Regions from separate parts of the Homo sapiens genome. Here all the other regions are linked to region 4. Evidence: promoter capture Hi-C in human tissues and cell types (Jung and others, 2019). All regions are on one chromosome and are shown on one strand. The core of a region is centred on a gene start or on the middle of the fragment in contact, and the rest is flanking DNA. Distances in the headings are between cores, read along the strand shown. Region 1 overlaps RYR1 (ryanodine receptor 1). Region 2 holds the start of RASGRP4 (RAS guanyl releasing protein 4). Region 3 has its middle 4.6 kb from the start of FCGBP. Region 4 holds the start of IFNL3 (interferon lambda 3).

Evidence for each region. Contacts are between HindIII fragments. The study calls those that stand out against the background at their distance.
Region 1: a contact is called between a fragment that was not itself captured here and the fragment with the promoter of IFNL3 in region 4, in 1 of the 25 tissues and cell types used here (mesenchymal stem cells).
Region 2: a contact is called between the fragment with the promoter of RASGRP4 here and the fragment with the promoter of IFNL3 in region 4, in 3 of the 25 tissues and cell types used here (dorsolateral prefrontal cortex, mesenchymal stem cells and stomach).
Region 3: a contact is called between a fragment that was not itself captured here and the fragment with the promoter of IFNL3 in region 4, in 1 of the 25 tissues and cell types used here (stomach).

Annotation. Positions count from the first base shown.
Region 1 is chr19:38,524,092-38,528,061 of GRCh38, reverse strand. It overlaps RYR1 (ryanodine receptor 1), which reads right to left. Exons shown (of 106, transcript NM_000540.3): 71 at 2,560-2,730; 72 at 1,010-1,069; 73 at 278-415. Among named protein-coding and RNA genes, the nearest start is that of MAP4K1-AS1, 70 kb to the left of the region's middle. The HindIII fragment of the contact is 4,595 bases long and covers 1-3,616 here.
Region 2 is chr19:38,424,171-38,429,452 of GRCh38, reverse strand. It overlaps RASGRP4 (RAS guanyl releasing protein 4), which reads left to right and starts at 3,234. Exons shown (of 17, transcript NM_170604.3): 1 at 3,234-3,384. The coding sequence starts at 3,362. RefSeq lists an enhancer at 1,892-2,406 and a silencer at 3,299-3,358. The HindIII fragment of the contact is 24,204 bases long and covers 1-5,282 here.
Region 3 is chr19:39,936,716-39,941,826 of GRCh38, reverse strand. No RefSeq gene overlaps it. Among named protein-coding and RNA genes, the nearest start is that of FCGBP, 4.6 kb to the right of the region's middle. RefSeq lists an enhancer at 79-158. The HindIII fragment of the contact is 4,644 bases long and covers 331-4,974 here.
Region 4 is chr19:39,241,665-39,246,869 of GRCh38, reverse strand. IFNL3 (interferon lambda 3) reads left to right here and starts at 1,864. Exons shown (of 5, transcript NM_172139.4): 1 at 1,864-2,082; 2 at 2,376-2,453; 3 at 2,713-2,862; 4 at 2,963-3,046; 5 at 3,140-3,317. The coding sequence starts at 1,903. The coding sequence ends at 3,238. It also overlaps the pseudogene IFNL4. The HindIII fragment of the contact is 34,684 bases long and covers 1-5,205 here.

The DNA.
Region 1 (3,970 bases), core at 70-2,569, 720 kb after region 4:
ACCCAAGGCCCTGCCCACAAACTCAACGCATCTCCTCTAGGCCCCACCCCTAGACCTAAAGATCTGCCCCTTCCCTGTCCCGCCCCCAGATGCAAGATTAAGCAGCAGACCCCTCCCCCGATCCATTCTAAGCCTCGCCTTAAACTCGAGGCTCCACCTCCTGCCCTGCCCCAAAACTTAATAGTCATCTCCAGACCCCACCCACATCCTTGAAGCCCCTCCCCCCGCCAGGCTCCGCCCAGAGACCCAGTAGAAAGACCCCTCCGGCCCCACCCACCTGGTCCAGGTAGTAGAGCACGGCTGACACTTCCTGGACTCTGCGCACGATTTTCTCGGGGTCATCGGCGTCCTCCTCGCGACCCGGGACGCCCCGGTACAGAGCCATCTGCCAGCGCAGAGACGGGGAGCCTTCGACCTGAAGGGAGGAAGAAGGAGTGGCCGGCGTGAGGGACCCTTCCCACAGTGTCCGCCGGATGTCCCCTTTCCGTTTTTGGGAGGACTCAATGGGTGAGTGCATGTTGAGGCCTTTCTTCTTCTTCATCTTTTTGTTTTGAGACGGAGCCTCGCCCCATCACCCAGGCTGGAGTGCAGTGGTGCGATCTCAGCTCACTGCAACCTCTGCCTCCTGGGCTCAAGCGATTCTCCTGCTTCAGCCTCCTGAGTAGCCGGGACTACAGGCACCCGCCATCACACCCAGCTAATTTTGTACTTTTAGTAGAGACGGGGTTTCACCACGTTGGCCAGGCTGGTCTCGAACTCCTAACCTCAGGTGATCTGCCCGCCTTGGCCTTCCAAAGTGTTGGGATTACAGGCATGAGCCATTGTGCCCGGCCTAATTGTTGTATTTTTAGTAGAAACATGGTTTCGCCACATTGGCCAGGCTGGTCTCAAACTCCTGACCTTTGAGGTCTTTCTTCAATGCCTGGTCTTTGGTAAATGCTCAAACCTTCACTAATATTGTGGTTACTTTCTGACTTGCTTCTTTTGCTTGCAGAGGAAGGAGGCATACCTTTCCCTGAAGGTGAAGGTTGTTGTGCAGAAATTCCCGGACCTCCTCATCTGTGTCTTTCTGGGGAGACAGAGCCAGGCTGGGTCACTCTGGAGGTCCCATCCTCCTTCCTGACCCACAACCCTTTCCTTCCAGGCCCAGCACCCCAGGAACTGAAGAGGTTTTTCTGGGGTGGGGGTGGGGGTCTGAGAGAAACAAAAGGATGCAGAGGTTGACGGGGTCAGAAGGGGTCCTAGAGGGGCCGGAGGGTCACAGAGTCACCTTGAAGATACAGTAAGGATTCGAGGGGCCTCGTGGAGGTCTGGGAAGAGGCAAAGGGTGACAAGAGGATCTCATCAAAGGTCAAATATGGCCAAAGAGGGATGACTGGGGGGTCAGAGTGGGGCAGGGAGTCTTTGAAGATCAGAAGGGGTCAGCAGAGGTCATGGGGGATCACGTAGGTCAACGGAGTCACTGGTTACACAGGGGCCAAAGGGGGCATCAGCAGGGTGGGGGTTCACTGGGGTTCTAGGACGGGGAGCCCTCAAGGACCAAGGTGAGGGGTCCATGGAGCCCTGGAGGGCTCTCTGGCGTCCTGGCAGGACTCAGCAGTCCTGGGAGGTGCCTGAGGTTCTGAGGGAAGGGGTGTCCTGGTGGTAGCAGGGGAGAAGTCGGTGGTCTTTAGGGGTCCAGGGGGTTAGTAGGTTGTCAGGGTGTTGGTGTGGTCCTGGGGGGAGGGCTATAGGGGTCTTGGGGCAGAATCCTGGGAGGGTTCCTTAGAGTCCCTGAAGCTGGAAAGGATCGGAGAGGAGGGAGATTGTCCTTGTTGTCCCACACAAGGGGTAAGTGGGGTCCCGGGAGGCCTCCTTGATATCCCAGCAAGCTTAAGAGGTTCTACAGCCCGGGTATTTTGGTCTCCAGGACAGTTGAGACCTCAGAGGTTTGGGTACAGTCCCGGGCTTGGGGTTCATGGATCCTGGGGAGTTATGCAGGGTCGCAGGGCTCCCTGAGCCCCTGAGAGTCTTGGGGGCTTAGTTGGGCTTCAACAGGGCCCAGGTGTCAGCAGGGTCCTGAAGGAAAGGGATGGTGAGCCAAGGGCTCAGCAGGAACCCAGAGGTTCAGTCTTGGCAGGGAGGGAAGGAGGGGTCATGAGGGTCTCAGTAGGTCCCAAGGGGCTTGAAGGGGCCTTGGTGGAGGGTTCAGAGGATCTCAGGGGCTCATCTTGTTGGGGGGACTCTCAGGGTCTCAGCAGGTTTGGCATGGTCCGGTGGGGGGGCAGTGGGGTCCTGCAGTCCTCATGCGGGTCCCAGGGGTCCTAGAGCTTTTCTAGGTTTCAGTGAGGGCTCTTAGGTCTGTGGTGCCCTGGCAATATCTTGAACGGGGTCCTCAGGGCATCCCAGGGGCACAGTGAGTCCTCAGCATCCCGGAAAAGAACTCAGTGGGGTCTGAAGGGAAGGCTCCCAGGGACCTGGGGGGCTCAGTGGCATTGTGGTTGTTCCCTAAGGTCCCAGGGGTTCAGTGGGTGCTGGGCGGCATCCTGGAAGGTTCCGAGGACGGGGCTGGGCAGGCACCAGGGCGTAACGGGTCTTGGCCAGCGTGATGAGGTCTTGGTCGGTGGGCGCACACATATTCAGGCCGATGGGCAGCATCTTCTTCAGTGTGGCCACGATCAGTGACGTCTGCACAGAGTACCGGTCCCCCCGGCGCTTCTTCTTGGTGCGTTCCTGGTCCGAGCCACCGGACTGTGGGGACACAGGGCTCAGCACCAGCCCAAGCCCCAATCCCATGCCTCAGCCCCAACCCGCGGCCATCATCCACACCCCAGGCCCCAGTCTGGACACCAGGCACTCCCTCCCCAACTGCCGACGACACCTCAATTTCCACCCCAGACTTGCTGACTCTACACTTCAGGCCCACAGCCATGACCGGAGACCCTCCAGACCCAAGTCCACAACCCAAATTCCCAGTTTCTTGTTTTTTAAACAAATTTATTTTTAGAGATGGTGTCTTGCCATGTTGCCCAGGCTGGACTTGAACTCTTGGCTTCAAGTGATCCTCCTGCCTCAGCCTCCCAAGTAGCTGGGACTACAGGCACATACCACCATGCTTGCCTGGCTCCAATTTCTAACCCAGGCCCATCCAGATTTTCCCCCGTTCTGGGCCTGTCTCAACTTCTAGCAGTCCTCTTCCAGAATCCCCTAGGAACCCCAGTACAATACCCCCTCCACAGCATGCACAACCCCACACTTCACATCCCAAAACCAAGTTCTCAAGAATGAAACAAAGATGCAGGTCCACAAAGAGTTCAAGCGACAAGAGAAGTTGCAAGAAAAAGACACTGAGAGACTGAAAAAGACAAGGAGACAGGAAGACCAAAGATGCAAGAGACATCCAGAAAGATCTGGAAGCAGAGACACAGGGCACAGAGTCCCACAGCCGTGTTCTGGAGCCTTGGGTGCAGACCCGGGGCCAGGGCCACCCCAGTCACGCCAGCGAGAAGCCCTGATGACAAGCTTTTGGGCAGAGCCACATCCACGCCGGCTGGCAACTTTGAGCATGACCCCTGTGCCAGGCACTGCTGCAGGCCACACATGCAGCTTCTCCCTGAGTCCTCGCAGAGCCCTGGGGTGGGGGCTGCTGGCTGGATGCCCTCAGAGGCTCAAAAGGATGACCCCAACCAAGGTCACACGGCTAACTATCAAGACAGGATTCTAACCCCAGTCCATACAGTCCAGAGCCCAAGCTTTAAACCATCCACGGCGAGGGTGCTGCCCCCTCCCCAACCATGCTCCGTGTGCCTCTCCCACCCCCATTACCCTTGACCTCAGCCCACGATGCTTTGGTAAAAGCTGAGAGTTGCTCTTTTTTTCTTTTTTTTTTTTTTTTTGGGAACAAAAGTCCAGAAAAAAAAAAGGAAAGAAGAAAAAGAAAAGAAGTCAAATTGCCAAAAGCTGAGGGTTGGGATGGGAACGGATGGGGGTG
Region 2 (5,282 bases), core at 1,985-4,484, 820 kb after region 4:
TGGAAAAACTAAAGACGGCGAGTTCAGTGACTGTCTAAATGTTCTGCATTGGAAAAAATATACATCCACGGTTCTTTCTTTTAGTGAAAAAAAAAGTGGAAAAATATACTTCTGAGAGAACGATTTCAATGAATTGCTAACATGCTATGTTTGGTAGAATCACAGTAACTACTATGACCCATTTATTCCACTCCTGGGTACTGCCCTACAATATGGTACACTCTATGTTCATCAAAAGTCAGATGCTCAAATAGTCACAGCAGCCCCAACCTGGAAACAACTCAGATGTCCATCACAGGAAAATTGATCAATAAATCACGGAGGCCGGGGACAGTGGTTCACGCCTGGAGAGTCAGCAATTTGGAGGCATAGGAAGGACGATTGCTTGAGCCTAGGAGTTCGAGATCAGCCTAGGCAACAAAGTAAGACCCTGTTTCTACAGGAAAATAATAAAAAAAAAATTAGCAGAGCACAGTGGTGTGCACTTGTAGTCCTAGCCACTCAGGAGGCTGAGGTGGGAAGATGGCTTAAGCCCAGGAGTCCGAGGCCGCAGTGAGCTAGGATCTCGCCACTGCACTCCAACCTTGGTGACAGAGGGAGACCCTGCTGTGGAGTCTTAATTAAGAAAAAAGAGTCAGGTTGGTAGGACCAAATAAAAATAAAAAAAAAAAACAGAGAAGCTATAAGTTTGTCTTTTTTTTACAGTCTAGGACATATAGTCCTCTTGTATAGATAACTCACTTAACTTAAAATGTTTTAGTGTCTAGTTATTACCAGACTCTAGACTGATGAAAAATAGAACTTAGTGCTGTGACTCACGCCTGTAACCCCAGCACTTTGGGAGGCTGAGGCGGGTGGATTATTTGAGACCAGGAGTTCAAGACCAGCCTGGCCAATATGGCAAAACCCCGTCTCTACAAAAATTAGCTGGGTGTGGTGGCACACACCTGTGATCCCAGATACTGGGGAGGCTGAGGCAGGAGAATCGCTTCAATCGCAGAGGTTGCAGTGAGCTGAGATCACGCCACTGCACTCCAGACTGGGCGACAGAGCAGGACTCTGTCTCAAAAATAAAAAAAAAAAATAGAAGTTAGCATGCCACCAGCCCGCTTAGTCACTATCCACAACACCTATCTCTAAATAAATAAATATATATATATAAGTCATGGAATTGTCACATAATGAAAGACTATATGGAATTATTATTATTATTATTATTATTATTATTTTGAGACAGAGTCTCGCTCTGTCGCCCAAGCTGAAGTGCAGTGGTGCAATCTCGGCTCGCTACAACCTCCTCCTCCCGGGTTCAAGCGATTCTCCTGCCTCAGCCTCCCAAGTAGCTGGGATTACAGGCACGCACCACCACACCTGGCTCATTTTTGTATTTGTAGTAGAGATGGGAGTTTCACCATGTTGGCCAGACGGGTCTCGAACTCCTGACCTCAAGTGATCTGCCCATCTCAGCCTCCCAAAGTGCTGGGATTACAGGCGTGAGCCACCGCGCCCGGCCAAAAAAAGGAATAAATTATAACCAAATATGATAACATGGAAGAACTGCAAAGACAAGACGTGGAGAGAAAGAACCCAGATTCAATACAGGAGTCCATTTTTATCCAGCTCAAAACAAGACAAAACTACTGCGCCAGACTTCGGGCGAGTGGGGATCTGTGGGAATTCGTGCTGGGAAGAAAGACAGGGGGCTTGTGGAGGGTGAGAATGTTCTGTGTCTGGATTTGTATGAATGTCACACAGGTTTGCTCAGTTGGTGACATTTCATCAACCTAAATACTTAATGATTCGTGATCTTTTTTGTACTTCAATTTAAAAAAAAGTGTCGAGCATGACACATTTAGGTAAAAAGAAAAAAATGCACACTCAAAAGAAAAGTCTGTTTCTAGGAGCACATGTTTATATGATGTGCTTAAACGCACAGACAGCAGTTTGGACGAAACTCGACAACGTGTCATATTGGTCACACCCTGCTTAAGAAAGGCAGGGGATGGGGAGGGGCTTCCCCAAGGCTTTACCTCCATCTCTAATGTTTTTTGATGTGTGTGTGTGTTTTTTTTTTTTGTTTTTTGTTTTTTGAGACAGGGTCTGGCTCTGCCACGCAGACTGAAGTGCAGTGGCACCATCATGGTTCACTGCAGCCTCGACCTCCTTGGGCTCAAGCAATCTTCTAGCCTCAGCCTCCTGAGTAGCTGGGACTACAAGTGTGCATCACTACGCTCAGCTAACTTTTTTTTTTTGAGACAGAGTTTCGCTCCTGTTGCCCAGGCTGGAGTGCAATGGCGCGATCTCGGCTCACGGCAACCTCCGCCTCCTGGGTTCAAGCAATTCTCCTGCCTCAGCCTGCCGAGTAGCTGGGATTACAGGCATGTGCCACAACGCCTGGCTAATTTTGTATTTTTAGTAGAGACGGGGTTTCTCCATGTTGCTCAGGCTGGTCTTAAACTCCCAACCTCAGGTGATCCGCCCACCTCGGCCTCCCAAAGTGCTGGGATTGCAGGAGTGAGCCACCACACCGGCCTAACGTTTTACATTTTTTGTAGAGACGGGGTTTTGTCACGTTGTTCAAGCTGGTCTCAAACTCTTAGACTCAAGCGATCCGCCTGCCTTGGCCTCCCAAAGTGCTGGATGACAGGCGTGAGCCCCTGTGAGCCCCCGTGCCTGGTCCGGTATGTAATTTTTTTTAAGGTAACAGTGGATTGTGTGAGGATTAAATGAGTTAATATTTTTAAAGTCCTTACAGCAGTGTGTGGTACACAGTAGGTGCTATGTGGAGGTTTGTTACAATAAAGTCAGAAAGTGAAAATGTTTTCCAGGGTACAAATGGTATCACTTAAACTAGGAATAAGAGACGCCTATGAAGAAATATACAAAATACTATGTCTTGTGAGTTTCCATTCAAACCTTCATGAATTATATATATGAATATGTCCTTCTAGACAGACAGACTTATCTTTTTGAGTGAGTGTGTGTGTTTTTACATAAATATCAGTCATGCTTTAAAAAGAAAAGCCCCTTCTTTTATTGAAGTATGACAGTGACGGGTCTCGACACCGAAAGATGGGGGAGATAGAGAGCCCGCCGGGGAGCTTGAGGGTGGGAGAGCCAGCGATGCCGGAAACCTCAGCAGAAGGGATCCCCGTGTGGGGGAGGGGGGCCTTCGGTCTCTCCCCAGCCTCTTCCTTCCCCCTGGCCTGAGGGTGGGTGGGGAGGGGCAGTTCCTCTTTCCTTCCCAAGCACCGAGGAGGCCCCAGCTCCCTAGGGGCTGAGAAGCTGGAGTCCTGGGCAAGGGGAGGAGCTGAGCCCTACTCTTGCAAGACCCCCGGCCTCCTCACCCCACGCGGGAAGCATGAACAGAAAAGACAGTAAGAGGTGAGAGGACCCTCCCCAGGGAGCCCGGCAGCACCCTGAGGCCTCCCTCTGCATGGGAGGGCTGGGGAGATCACTCGCCAGGGTGGCAGGATTCCTGACTTCTTTGGGATCAGGCGCAGGGGGGCCAGGTGGATGCTTCAGGGAGTCTGGAGCCAGCTACGGCTGCAGTCGCTTGTATGTGGCATCTGTACCGTGTTGTCCCTGGAGTTTGAGCTGCTCCGTGCCCCTTTTCCACTCCTCATCACCCCACCTCCATCCCTGGCCTGGGCTGAGTGTCTCTGCCCTCCCTGGGGGCTTCCTGGTTCCCCATCCCCGTGGACTGGAAACTCCAGGCTCCTGCAGGGCCTGGCCCAGGAGAGGGGAGTGTGGCACAGGGCAAGGCGACTCCCCTGCCTCTTAAACCACTCCTGGCTGTTCCAGACCCCTACAGGGGGCTGCAGGACAGGGCCTAGTGGCTGGCTGTGCGGCCGGTTCTGGAATGGGCTTCATCTCCTGGGCAAGCTGGCCCTTCTGTCCCCACAGAGGCAGATGGTGGGTGGCTCCCTAGCCTGGGTAACTCCTCCTGCCACCCCCAGCACCACTCTGATGGGCAAAGGGCTTTCCTCCCCACCCAGCAGTTTAGTGGTAGACTCCTGGCTGCCTAATTTCCTAGCTGTGTGACCTTAGGTAAGTCACTTAACTGCTCTGTGTCTCGGGTTTTTCTTCTGTCAGTAGAACAATCATATCCTCTACCTCGGAGAGGCCTGTAAGTACTCAATGAGACACTCTAGACCAGTGGTTCTCAAACTGGAGCGAGCCTCAGAACTGTCTGGAGGGCTTGTAAAATACAGGTTGCTGGGCTTACCTTTAAAGTGTTTGGTTTTTTTTTTTTTGTTTTTTTTTTTTGAGACGGAGTCTCGCTCTGCCGCCAGGCTGGAGTGCAGTGGCACAATCTTGGCTCACTGCAACCTCTGCCTCCCGGGTTCAAGCGATCATCCTGCCTCAGCCTCCCAAGTAGCTGGGACTACAGGTGTGCACCACCACACCCAGCTACTTTTTTGTATTTTTAGTAGAGATGGGGTTTCACCATGTTGGGCAGGATGGTCTCGATCTCTTGACCTCGTGATCCACCCACCTCGGCCTCCCAAAGTGCTGGGATTAGAGGCATGAGCCACCACCCTTAGCCTTAAAGTGTTTGATTTTGTAGGTCTGGGTTGGGACCTGAGAATCTGTATTGATATCCAGTTCCCAGGTGATGCTTTTGGTACTAGCTGGGTGCCCACACTTAGGGAAATGCTGACTTAGTTAGAATGCTCCTTCCTTAGCCTAGGACATATATAATACTTTAAAATGTCCCTTCTAGTAACGATGGCTCATGCCTCTAATCCCAGCACTTTGGGAGGATAAGACAAGGAGAACTTGAAGCCAGGAGTTCTAGACCAGCCTGAGAAATATAGTGAGACCCCCCCCCCCATTGACACACACCCAAACACACACACAAAATTAGCTGGGTATGGTCGTGCACACCTGTAGTCCCAGCTACCTGGGAGACTAAGGCAGGAGGATCACTCGAGTCCAGGAGTTCAAGGTTACAATGAGCTTTGATTGCACAACTGTGCTCCAGCCTGGGAGACAGAGCAAGACCCTGTCTGAAAAAGGGTAGAGGTGGGAGCCTGGCGTGATGGCTCACACCTGTAATCCCAGCACTTTCAGAGGCAAAGGTGGGAGGATCAGTTGGGCCCAGGAGTTTGAAACCAGCCTGGCCAACATGGTGAAACCCCATTTCTACTAAAAATACAAAAATTAGCTCGGCGTGGTGGCACGTGCCTGTAGTCCCAACTACTTGGGAGGCTGAGGCAGGAGAATTGCTTGAACCCGGGAGGTGGAGGTTGCAGTGAGCTGAGATCGCACCACTGCAC
Region 3 (5,111 bases), core at 1,403-3,902, 690 kb before region 4:
AACCATTGTGCAGGCGCCAAGAAATCCCTTGTTAACACATGATGACAGGCACATCATGGCATCTGGACCCCTACAAGACAGATCGACTTGCTCCCTGTGGGGAGCAGCCTACCCTTTTCCTTTCACGGTGCTGACCTCCCTTCTGCACAAACGGAAACAAACTTTTTTTTTTTTTTCTCTTTAATACTGTGTCTGGTAATCTCACTTGATTTCTATCTTAGGAGACTACAACAAGCCAGGATGATGGTAACATCTCTGTCAAGATGACATAGATTTATTTTTCCTGGCTCCTCTCTGCTAAAAACCCTGGAATAACATAACAGACATTCTTAAGAGGACTCTGAAAGATAAAAAGAAGGAAAACTGACAAGGGCCTTAGAACTCGAGAAACATCTCAGTGGCCCAGCATCTCTCAATTTCCCACCCAACGACAGGACGTGGTCTAGATCCAGCATCTCCCCAGCCCCCTATCCAGCGGCAGAAAGCACCCAGGTAGGTGCTTTCCCCACCCTAGTGGATGGCAGAGATGAAGGAAGAGCCCTGCTGGCACCACGCAGCCCAGGGAAGTACTCTCCACCCTTTTGTGCCAGTGTCTCCTACTCCTAACGTAGCAGCACCAAGCAGGCCCCAAGAAAATGCTTTTAACCTCCATTGGTGGTACTAACAGGAATTGGGTATGAGCTCAACCAGCACCAGGCAAATGAAATAGACCGGAATAATAATGCAAGGGCTCTGAAAACTAAATTGTCATTGGAATCATAGCACACAAAAGTAGGCCAGGACCTGCATGCTAACCTAAAAACAGTGACTGCTAAAATGGAAGAGTTAAATAGGATCCAGGGTCTCCTCTCATAATACCAGAAATGTCCAGGATATAATTTAAAAATCATACATAATATGAACAACCAGAAAAATCACAACTTGAATGAGAAAAGCCAATCAACAATCTAACACTGAGATGAAAGATTTTAGAATTATCTGACAAAGATCTAAAGTAGCCATCATAAAAATGTTTCACCAAGCAAGTAGAAATTCCTTGCAAAGATGGGAAAGAAAAGAAAATCTCACCAAAGAAATGGAAAGTATGTTCTTAAAGAATCAAATGAAAATGATAAAACTGAAAAATACAATAACTAAAATAAAAACTCACTGGAAAGGCTCAAGAGCAGAGCAACTATGACAAAGGAAATAAGAAGTGAACTTGAAGATAGAACAATAAAAATTACCCAATCCAAAAAACAGAGAGACAATCAACTTTAAAAAAGAGAAACAGAAAATGACTAACAAGGGCTCAGAGAACCTGCAGGACAATTATAAAATAGCTAACATTTGTATTATCAGATTAACAGAAGGAGAAAAGAAAGTGGGGCTGAAAAATATTTGAAGAATAATGACCAAACCTTCCCAAATTTGGCAAAAGACATAAACCTACAGATGCAAGAAGCTAAACAGAATAAATCTGACGGATTCCATGCCAAAACACAGTATAACTAACTTATGAAAACAAAGGCAAACAATGAAACTATCTTGGAAGCAGCTAGAGAGGAATTATAAATTGTCTATAGGGAACACTGATCAAATGACAAAAAATTTCTTATCAAAAACCATGGAGAAGAAAGCCTGGAGCAATACTCTTCAAGTGCTGAAAGAAAATAACTATCTGCTGAGAATCTTTTTTTTTTTTTTTTTGAGACAGTCTCGCTCTGTCCTCCAGGCTGGAATGCAGTGGTGTGCTTTTGGCTCACTGCAACCTCCACCTCCCAGTGATTCTCCTGCCTCAGCCTCCCAAGTAGCTGGGACTACAGGCGCCCGCCACCATGCCCGGCTAATTTTTGTACTTTTATTAGAGACAGGGTTTCACCATGTTGGCCAGGCTGGTCTGGAACTCCTGACCTTGTGATCTGCCCGCCTCAGCACCCCAAAGTGCTGGGATTACAGGCGTGAGCCACTGTGCCCAGCCGAGAATCTTATATGCAGCAAAACTATCTACGGGGTATGAAGAAGAAATAAAAAGCTTTTAGATGAAGGAAGACTACAAGACTTTGCCGTCAGCAGAATTATTTTTAGAGAATGATTAAAGGAAGTTCTCCAAAGTCCAAATGATTACAGGAAAAGGCTCAGAACTTTAGAAAGGAAGGAAGAACAGCAGAATGGACAAAAATAGTGATAACTATAGCAGATTACCCTTCTCATGAGTTTTTAAAAATCGTAGTTGGTTGAAGCAAAAATTATAGTATTATCTGATGTCTATAGGAAGAGACAATACTTAAAATAGTTATATGTGTATACACACACACGCATATGTATAAGTGGGAGGGTAAAAGGATCTATATGGATGTAAAGTTTCAACACTTCAATCAAAGTGGTAAAATATTCATAAGTTGGATTATAATCAGTTACATATGTATATTGTAGTACTAGAGCAAGTGCTAAGAAAATTCTACAAATTATGTATTCGAAAATAATATGAATCAAAATGGAATGCTAAAAAATGCTCATGTAACTCACAGGAATGCAAGAAAAAATAAGAATGAGAAATGGAACAAATGGAAAATGAATATTAAAATGTTAATCTTAAGTCCAAACATATCAATAACTACTTTAAATGTAAATAGTCTATCTCCTTACATGAAATAAAAGGCCAGAGATTGGTAGAGTGGATTTAAAAAATGATCCAACTAGATACTGTCTCCAAAAAACTTTACTCCAAATATAACAACATAGGTAGGTTGAAAATAAAAGAATAGAAATATATATTAATTTTATTAATTTATGTTATTATAAATATAAATTTTAGGCTGGGTGCAGTGGCTCACCCCTGTAATCCCAGCACTTTGGGAGGCCAAGGCAGATAGATCACTTGAGGTCAGGAGTTCAAGACCAGCCTGGTCAACATGGTGAAACCCCGTATCTACCAAAAATACAAAAATTAGCCAGGCGTGGTCACAGGTGCCTGTAATCCCAGCTACTTGGGAGGCTGAAGCAGGAGAATTGCGTGAACCTGGGAGGCAGAGGCTGCAGTGAGCCGAGATCATGCCCTTGCACTCCAGCTTGGGCAACAGAGCGAGACTCTGTCTAAAAAATAAATAGATAAATAAATAAATAAATATATATATAATTTTAAATATAAATTTTTAAAAGGAAGGAAGTACTATATTAATACGAAAATACTTTCCTTCAGAGCGAAAAACATTGCTAAAAACAAAGGATCATTCTGCCAAGACATTGCAATCCTAAGGTATATGTACCAAACAACAGAGATTCAAGTACATGAAGCAAAAACTGATAGAGCTGAAAGGTGAAATAGACAAGTCCACAAATATAGTTGGAGAATTAAAAACGTCAGTCTCACCAAATTGATAGAACTACCAGGATAAAATATGTGAGAATATCAAAGAACTGAATAACAGCATCAATCAACAGGATCTAATTGATATTTATAGAATGCTCTATTCAACAATAGACAAATCCACAAATACATTTGGGAAATTCAAAGACTTGCTCTTGTTAGCAACAACAACAACAACAAAGAAGTAGTTCTTTCGTTTCATTGATTTTCTCATGTTCAGTTTTATTAATTTCTGCTCTTCATTATTTCCTTTCTTCTGCGTTGTGTTTGTTTTGGTCTTTTACTACTTTATTGTGTAAGAAGAGCTTAGAATATTGGTTTAAGAACTTTCCTCTTTCCTAATGTAAATATTTAATGCCATAAATTTCCCTTTAGCTATATCCCACATATTTTGAAATATCTTCTTTTCATTTTCATTTAATTCTATGTATTTTTGATACTTCCTCTTTGGCCCATGGATTATTTAGAAGTGAGTTGCTCAATATCCTTGTGAGTGGAGATTTTCCTGTTTTTCTGTTATTCATTTCAAGCTGATTCCATTATGGTCAGAGAACATCTCCTATAGAATTTCAATTATTATAGGCAGAGAGGAAGTGTGAATGTCAAATGTTAGAGGGAAGGAACTAGAGGCAAGTGGCAAATAATGGGTCATTGGAGAGTTTAACAAAACGTTCAGTGCTTATGGAAGTCGGATTGTGGGATCCAGAGCGTAAAGGAATTAAGTTAGAAATTGCCCGCAAGCCTGAATTTAGCTGGAGAGAGTAAATTCTCTTCCACTGTGCTCCAGTCTATAAAGCCAAGACTAGTCAGAGGGGCCCAGGGGTCTGGGATGGTATAGCCAGTGCCCATGCTGCAAGGAGACGGAAGCAGATAAGCAGGAAGAGGCCGAAAGGCTCAGGTACACAAATACCCTTGTTTGGGCTCAGAGCAAGGCTGCCAGTGGAGGGATGGATGCGATTTCTCTGACCATAAGGAAGTGTCCCCAGAGTTTATTTCCCGGGTCACCAAAGGGTTTCCTGAGAATTGATATAATACAGGGTAAAGCACAGGGGTGTACACACACACATACACACACACACACACACACACCCACACACACACCCACACACACACCACTTGGGCCTTAAAAGGAGTGAGAAAGAAGACCCAAGGGGATTGGCACATACAGAGTATTAATTTGTGAGATCTCCCACCACAACCACCCCATTTCTGGGGACTCTGGCTGTGGAGAGCGATGATGAATTTTGAAGGCAGGAAGCTTCTTTCTGTGATCAACCAGGGGAAACCCCAAGGCTTAGAGAGAATTGAGGGCCAGAAACACCCATGAAACTCACCCTGATTCTTTCCCTTCACCTCCCATTTGTCTCTGAGTGCCTCTAATTACAAGAGGCATATGGCACACAGAGGATTTTATTTTCTTTTTTCTTTTTCTCCCCAGGCCAGAATGCAGTGGCATGATCACGGCTCGCTGCAGCCTCAGACTCCTAGGATCAAGCAATCCTCCCACCTTAGCCTCCTGAATGGTGGAGACTACAGGTGCATGCCACCACACTCGGTTTATTTTTATATTTTTTGTAGAGAAAGGGTCTCACTATGTTGCCCAGGCTGGTCTTGACCTTGTGGCCTCAAGTGATCCTCCTGCCTCAGCCTCCCAAGTAGCTGGGACTACAAGCGTGCACCACCGTGCCTGGCTAATTTTTGTATTTTTTTGTAGATACAGGGTCTCACTATGTTGGTCTTGAACCAGGCTGGTCTCAAACTC
Region 4 (5,205 bases), core at 615-3,114:
CAGGAAAAAACTTGAGCTCTGGAAACCGTGGCTGACCCCAGGCAACAGGGACCAGTTCCTCCTTGTGTGGTTACCAGGACACCCCCAACACCAGGTCCTAACCCCGGATTTGTAGCCCCACAGCCAGCTTTGAGATTCTGTGAATCCGTGACTCTTGGATCCGGCATCTAAGGGACACCAATCCATGAGGGATTTGGTAGTGAAAGGCCCAAGGGTCCTTAACCGACTGTGGTTCTTTGGATTCCCTTACGTGTGTTTGTATTTGTGAAGTTCCTGTGCATTTGCTATTCTGTCTCCCGGTTTAAATTTATTGCCAGTTATCAAAGAGTGTTTTGATCGCATTGGTTGTTTTCCGTATGATGATTGTGAGGTGCACCTTACAGCAAAAAAAGAGGCCGAGCCAGGGACTCAGGTGGCCTGAGTTTCAGTTCTGACCCTGCCAGTTAATTACAGTGGAATTCAGGGCAAATTACTTTTCTGAGCCTCTGTTTCCTCACCTATAGGATGGGTTAGCATACTTGCCTTGTGGAGGAGTAGTGTCCGTTGAGATCACGTTTTAAACTCTCCAGCTGAGGTCCTAGTATGGTCTTAATGAGTGGATTCTATTAAATAATCACTCACATAAATACACAAACAATTGTGTTATTAATTTTTTCTCCAAATCTGTGCATTAGCAATCTGCGTTGCTGAATGCACCCCTCCTTGCCAAGGTCACACGGCTAGTGAGGGTCAGAACCAGGTTTGAACCCCAGACCCTTCATCTCCAAGACCCATGCTCTTCACCACTGCCTGAACTTCCCTAAGAAAGACGGCACCCACGTGGTGTCCTTCAAGTCCTTCGTCACACCTCAATTCTTGAGCAGAGCCTCATATTCCTGAGTCCTTCCTTGCCTGGGCAATTAAGAAATATTGGCCTCTGGGCATGGTGGCTCACACTGAAATCCCAGCAATTTGGGAGGCCTAGACAGAGAGATGACTTGACATCAGGAATTTGAGACCAGCCTTGCCAACATGGTGAAACGCCATCTCTACTAAAAATATAAAAATTAGCTGGGAATGGTGGCACAAATCTGTAATCTCAGCTACTTGGGAGGCTAAGGCAAGAGAATTGCTTGAACCCAGGAGGCGGAGGTTGCAGTTAGCCAAGATTTTGCACTGCACTCCAGCCTGGGTGACCGAACAAGACCCTGTCTCAAAATATATATATATATATATATATATATATGCCAGGAGTGGTGGCTCAGGCCTGTAATCTCAGCACTTTAATAGGCTGGGTGAGGAGGATGGCTTGAGCCCAGGAGTTTGAGGCTGCAGTGAGCTGTGATCATGCCATTGCACTGCAGTGACAGAGTGAGACCCTGTCTTAAACAACAACAAAACCAGAGCAGGTGGAATCCTCTTGGGAACATACCTTCCTGTAGGTTACCCCTGAGTCTCCATCAGTTTCTCTTTCCCTCCAGCTGCTCATCTGGCTCACTAGCCCTGCCCTGCTCTGGGCTTTCCCAGCCTGGGGCTCCCCTGGTGGCCGGTGTCTTACCTGAGGCTGTGTTTTCACTTTTCCTACATCAGCTGGGACTGCCCTTCTGTCAGGGATAAAAGCTGCCCCATGGAGCTCAGGCAGGAATTACATCCCAGACAGAGCTCAAAACTGACAGAAAGAGTCAAAGCCAGGACACAGTCTGAGATCCAGAAGAGGGGACTGAAAAGAACAGAGACTCCAGACAAGACCCAAACAGACCCTGGGTGACAGCCTCAGAGTGTTTCTTCTGCTGACAAAGACCAGAGATCAGGAATGAAACTAGGTGAGTCCCACATCTCTGTCCGTGCTCAGCTCCTGCAGCCCCTGCCCTCAGTGGGCAGCCTCTGCATTCCCTCAGCTCCCTTTCTCTCTGTGACACAGACATGACCGGGGACTGCATGCCAGTGCTGGTGCTGATGGCCGCAGTGCTGACCGTGACTGGAGCAGTTCCTGTCGCCAGGCTCCGCGGGGCTCTCCCGGATGCAAGGGGCTGCCACATAGCCCAGTTCAAGTCCCTGTCTCCACAGGAGCTGCAGGCCTTTAAGAGGGCCAAAGATGCCTTAGTGAGTCTCCCCCTGCCCTCCTGCCATGGACTAGCCTCCACCCGCACTCCAAGGGTCACCATGCTTTCCCACTCCCAGCTTCCTTCACTGGGCTAGCCTCCACCCTCCCTGCAGTGGGCTATCTCATGCTCCTACTGCAGGGACTGACTCATGTTTTCCTGAAGAAGAGGGTCCTCTACCATCCTCCCAGCAGTTAACCTCCCCTATCCTGTTGTCAGCCATCCTCCAATCCCATCAGAGTGGTCTAACCTCCACCCCTCCTGCTGGGGCTAACCTGTGCCTTTGCTGTCTAGGAAGAGTCGCTTCTGCTGAAGGACTGCAAGTGCCGCTCCCGCCTCTTCCCCAGGACCTGGGACCTGAGGCAGCTGCAGGTGAGAGGGGGAGTCAGGCCCACCCCTGCCCTCCCAGCCCTGCTCACCTGGCTCTGTAGTGGCCCCTTCACCTTCTCCTTCTCCATTGTCCCTCTCTCCTCTCCCCACACCTGCTACCCCTTCCCTCTGCTCCTACCTGACCACACTGGCTGTGCCCTCTCCCCTGTGCCTGTCACCTTCACTTGTTCCTCTCTATCCTCCTCCCCCAACCTGTTCCCCTCACCTCCCCCCTCACCTGCTCTTTCTCACCTCTCCTCAGGTGAGGGAGCGCCCCGTGGCTTTGGAGGCTGAGCTGGCCCTGACGCTGAAGGTTCTGGAGGCCACCGCTGACACTGACCCAGCCCTGGGGGATGTCTTGGACCAGCCCCTTCACACCCTGCACCATATCCTCTCCCAGCTCCGGGCCTGTGTGAGTCGTCAGGGCCCGGGCACCCAGGTCTGTGAGCTCTGAGCAGCGTCCTTCCCCTGGCCAAGGCCCCGGCTCACACACCGCCCTCCTCTGCCCACAGATCCAGCCTCAGCCCACGGCAGGGCCCAGGACCCGGGGCCGCCTCCACCATTGGCTGCACCGGCTCCAGGAGGCCCCAAAAAAGGTGAGTGACCCGGGAAGAGAGGGACTGAGGTCTGGGGAGCCACTGGGAGCCCAGAACCCAGACAGCCCCTGACCCATCCCCTCCTCCCTACAGGAGTCCCCTGGCTGCCTCGAGGCCTCTGTCACCTTCAACCTCTTCCGCCTCCTCACGCGAGACCTGAATTGTGTTGCCAGCGGGGACCTGTGTGTCTGACCCTTCCGCCAGTCATGCAACCTGAGATTTTATTTATAAATTAGCCACTTGGCTTAATTTATTGTCACCCAGTCGCTATTTATGTATTTGTGTATGTAAATCCAACTCACCTCCAGGAAAATGTTTATTTTTCTACTTTTTGAAATCCTTGTTGAAATAAACAATGAGGAAAAGACACCCATGACGTGGGACTGTGTGTGCGTTGGTGTGTATTTCCTTTGCATTGCTGCCATAACAAATTACCCTAAAAGTAGCATCTAGAACAGCAGGTTCATTGAGTCTGTGCTGTCCACTGGGGTCCCCAGGTCACATGTCACTATCGAGCACCTGGAATGTAGGTGGTGCAACCTCATTTTTTCAGTGAGTGTAAAACATACCCCAGAATTTGAAGATTTACTGTGGAGAAAAAAAAAAAAGTAAAACAGCTTAATTATAATTTATATATTCATTAGATGTTGAAATGATAGCACTTTGGATGTATTGGGTGAAATGAAGCATCTTTAAAATTAATTTAGAGCCTGGATGTGATTGCTCAAGCCTGTAATCACAGCACTTTGGGTGGCTGAGTTGGGAGGATCACTTGAGCCCAGACCAGCCTGGGCAACATAGCAAGATCCTGTCTCTATAAAAAATTAGAGAATTGGCTGGGTGTGGTGGCACAAGCCCATAATCCCAGCTACTGGTGGAAGCTGAGATGGGAGGACTGTTTGAGGTCAGGAGTTCACGACCAGCCTGAGCAACAGCAAGATCCTGTCTCTTGCGTGATCACATCTCACTGTAGCCTCAAACTCCTGGGCTCAAGTGATTCTCTCTCCTCGGCACCATCCTCCACCCTCTCCAGCCCCTCCCCGAACTGGGATTACAGGCTTGAGTCACCGGGTCCAGCCCATTCTCTTTCCAAGAAGCCCCTGAATTGTATAAGCAAACATGAGGTCTCACTAACCCTGGATAAGCCCCTACAGATGAGGAGGACAACTTGGATCAGGGACCCCTGCTGAGTAGAGTTGGCTGAGCTGCTGGAACAAAGAGTCCCCCAAATACAGTGATCATGAATTACAAACCACAGAGTGTCATTCTCCACCAGCTCCTCCTCCCAAGGTGAGCGCTCCCCCTGGCAGGATGGCCCCACTCAGTCATCCAGGGGCCCTGGTTCCTGGCAGTTCTGTGCTCCACAGTCCCCGGGACAGGGCTCCCTCATCATCTTCACCCACCGGACCTCACGGCAGCCTTGAAAAGCCTACGGACCCTTCTCAGAAGGAAAGAACACGTGCAGGACAAAGGAATCCAACTCTGATTGTAATACAGTGATCAAAATATTTTTTCACACTGTGACATAGCAATTCATGTGCTTCTTCATGAATGCATTAAGTAAAAAATCACCTGTGGCAGCTTTAATAACCACTGTGACTTAGAAGCAGAGATGAGCATAAATGACATTTCAAGGTGCCTGCTGGAAGATAACGTGATAGGAAATGCCTGTGATTTCTTTTGGTAACAGTCACAAGTTCTGCTAACACTGCTGTGGTGTGTTGCTGCATTTGTAATGGATTCGTGCTAGATGCAAGACTGGTCCCCAGAGATGTTCCTGATTCCTGGACCTGGGAATATGTTATGTTCCATGGCACGAGGGACTCTGCAGATGTGAGTAAGTTAAGGGTTTGGGATGGGGGCGTTATCCTGGGTTGTCCACCTGGACCCAATGTCATCACAAAAGTCCTTCTAAGAAGGAGGCCGGGGTCAGCATCATTAGCGGAAGATGTAACCACAGAAACAGGACATTGGAGTGATGTCAGGAAGGGAACCGGGGTCAAGGGATGCTGGACACCCCCAGAGGCTGAGAAAGGAGAGAGATCTCCCCTGCTGCTTCCAGAAGGAACCCGCTCTGCTGACATCTTGACTGTCAGAACTGTAGGAATAGAAATGTGCATGCATTTTGTTTTGTTCTTTTTGTTCAGGTAATTTAAATA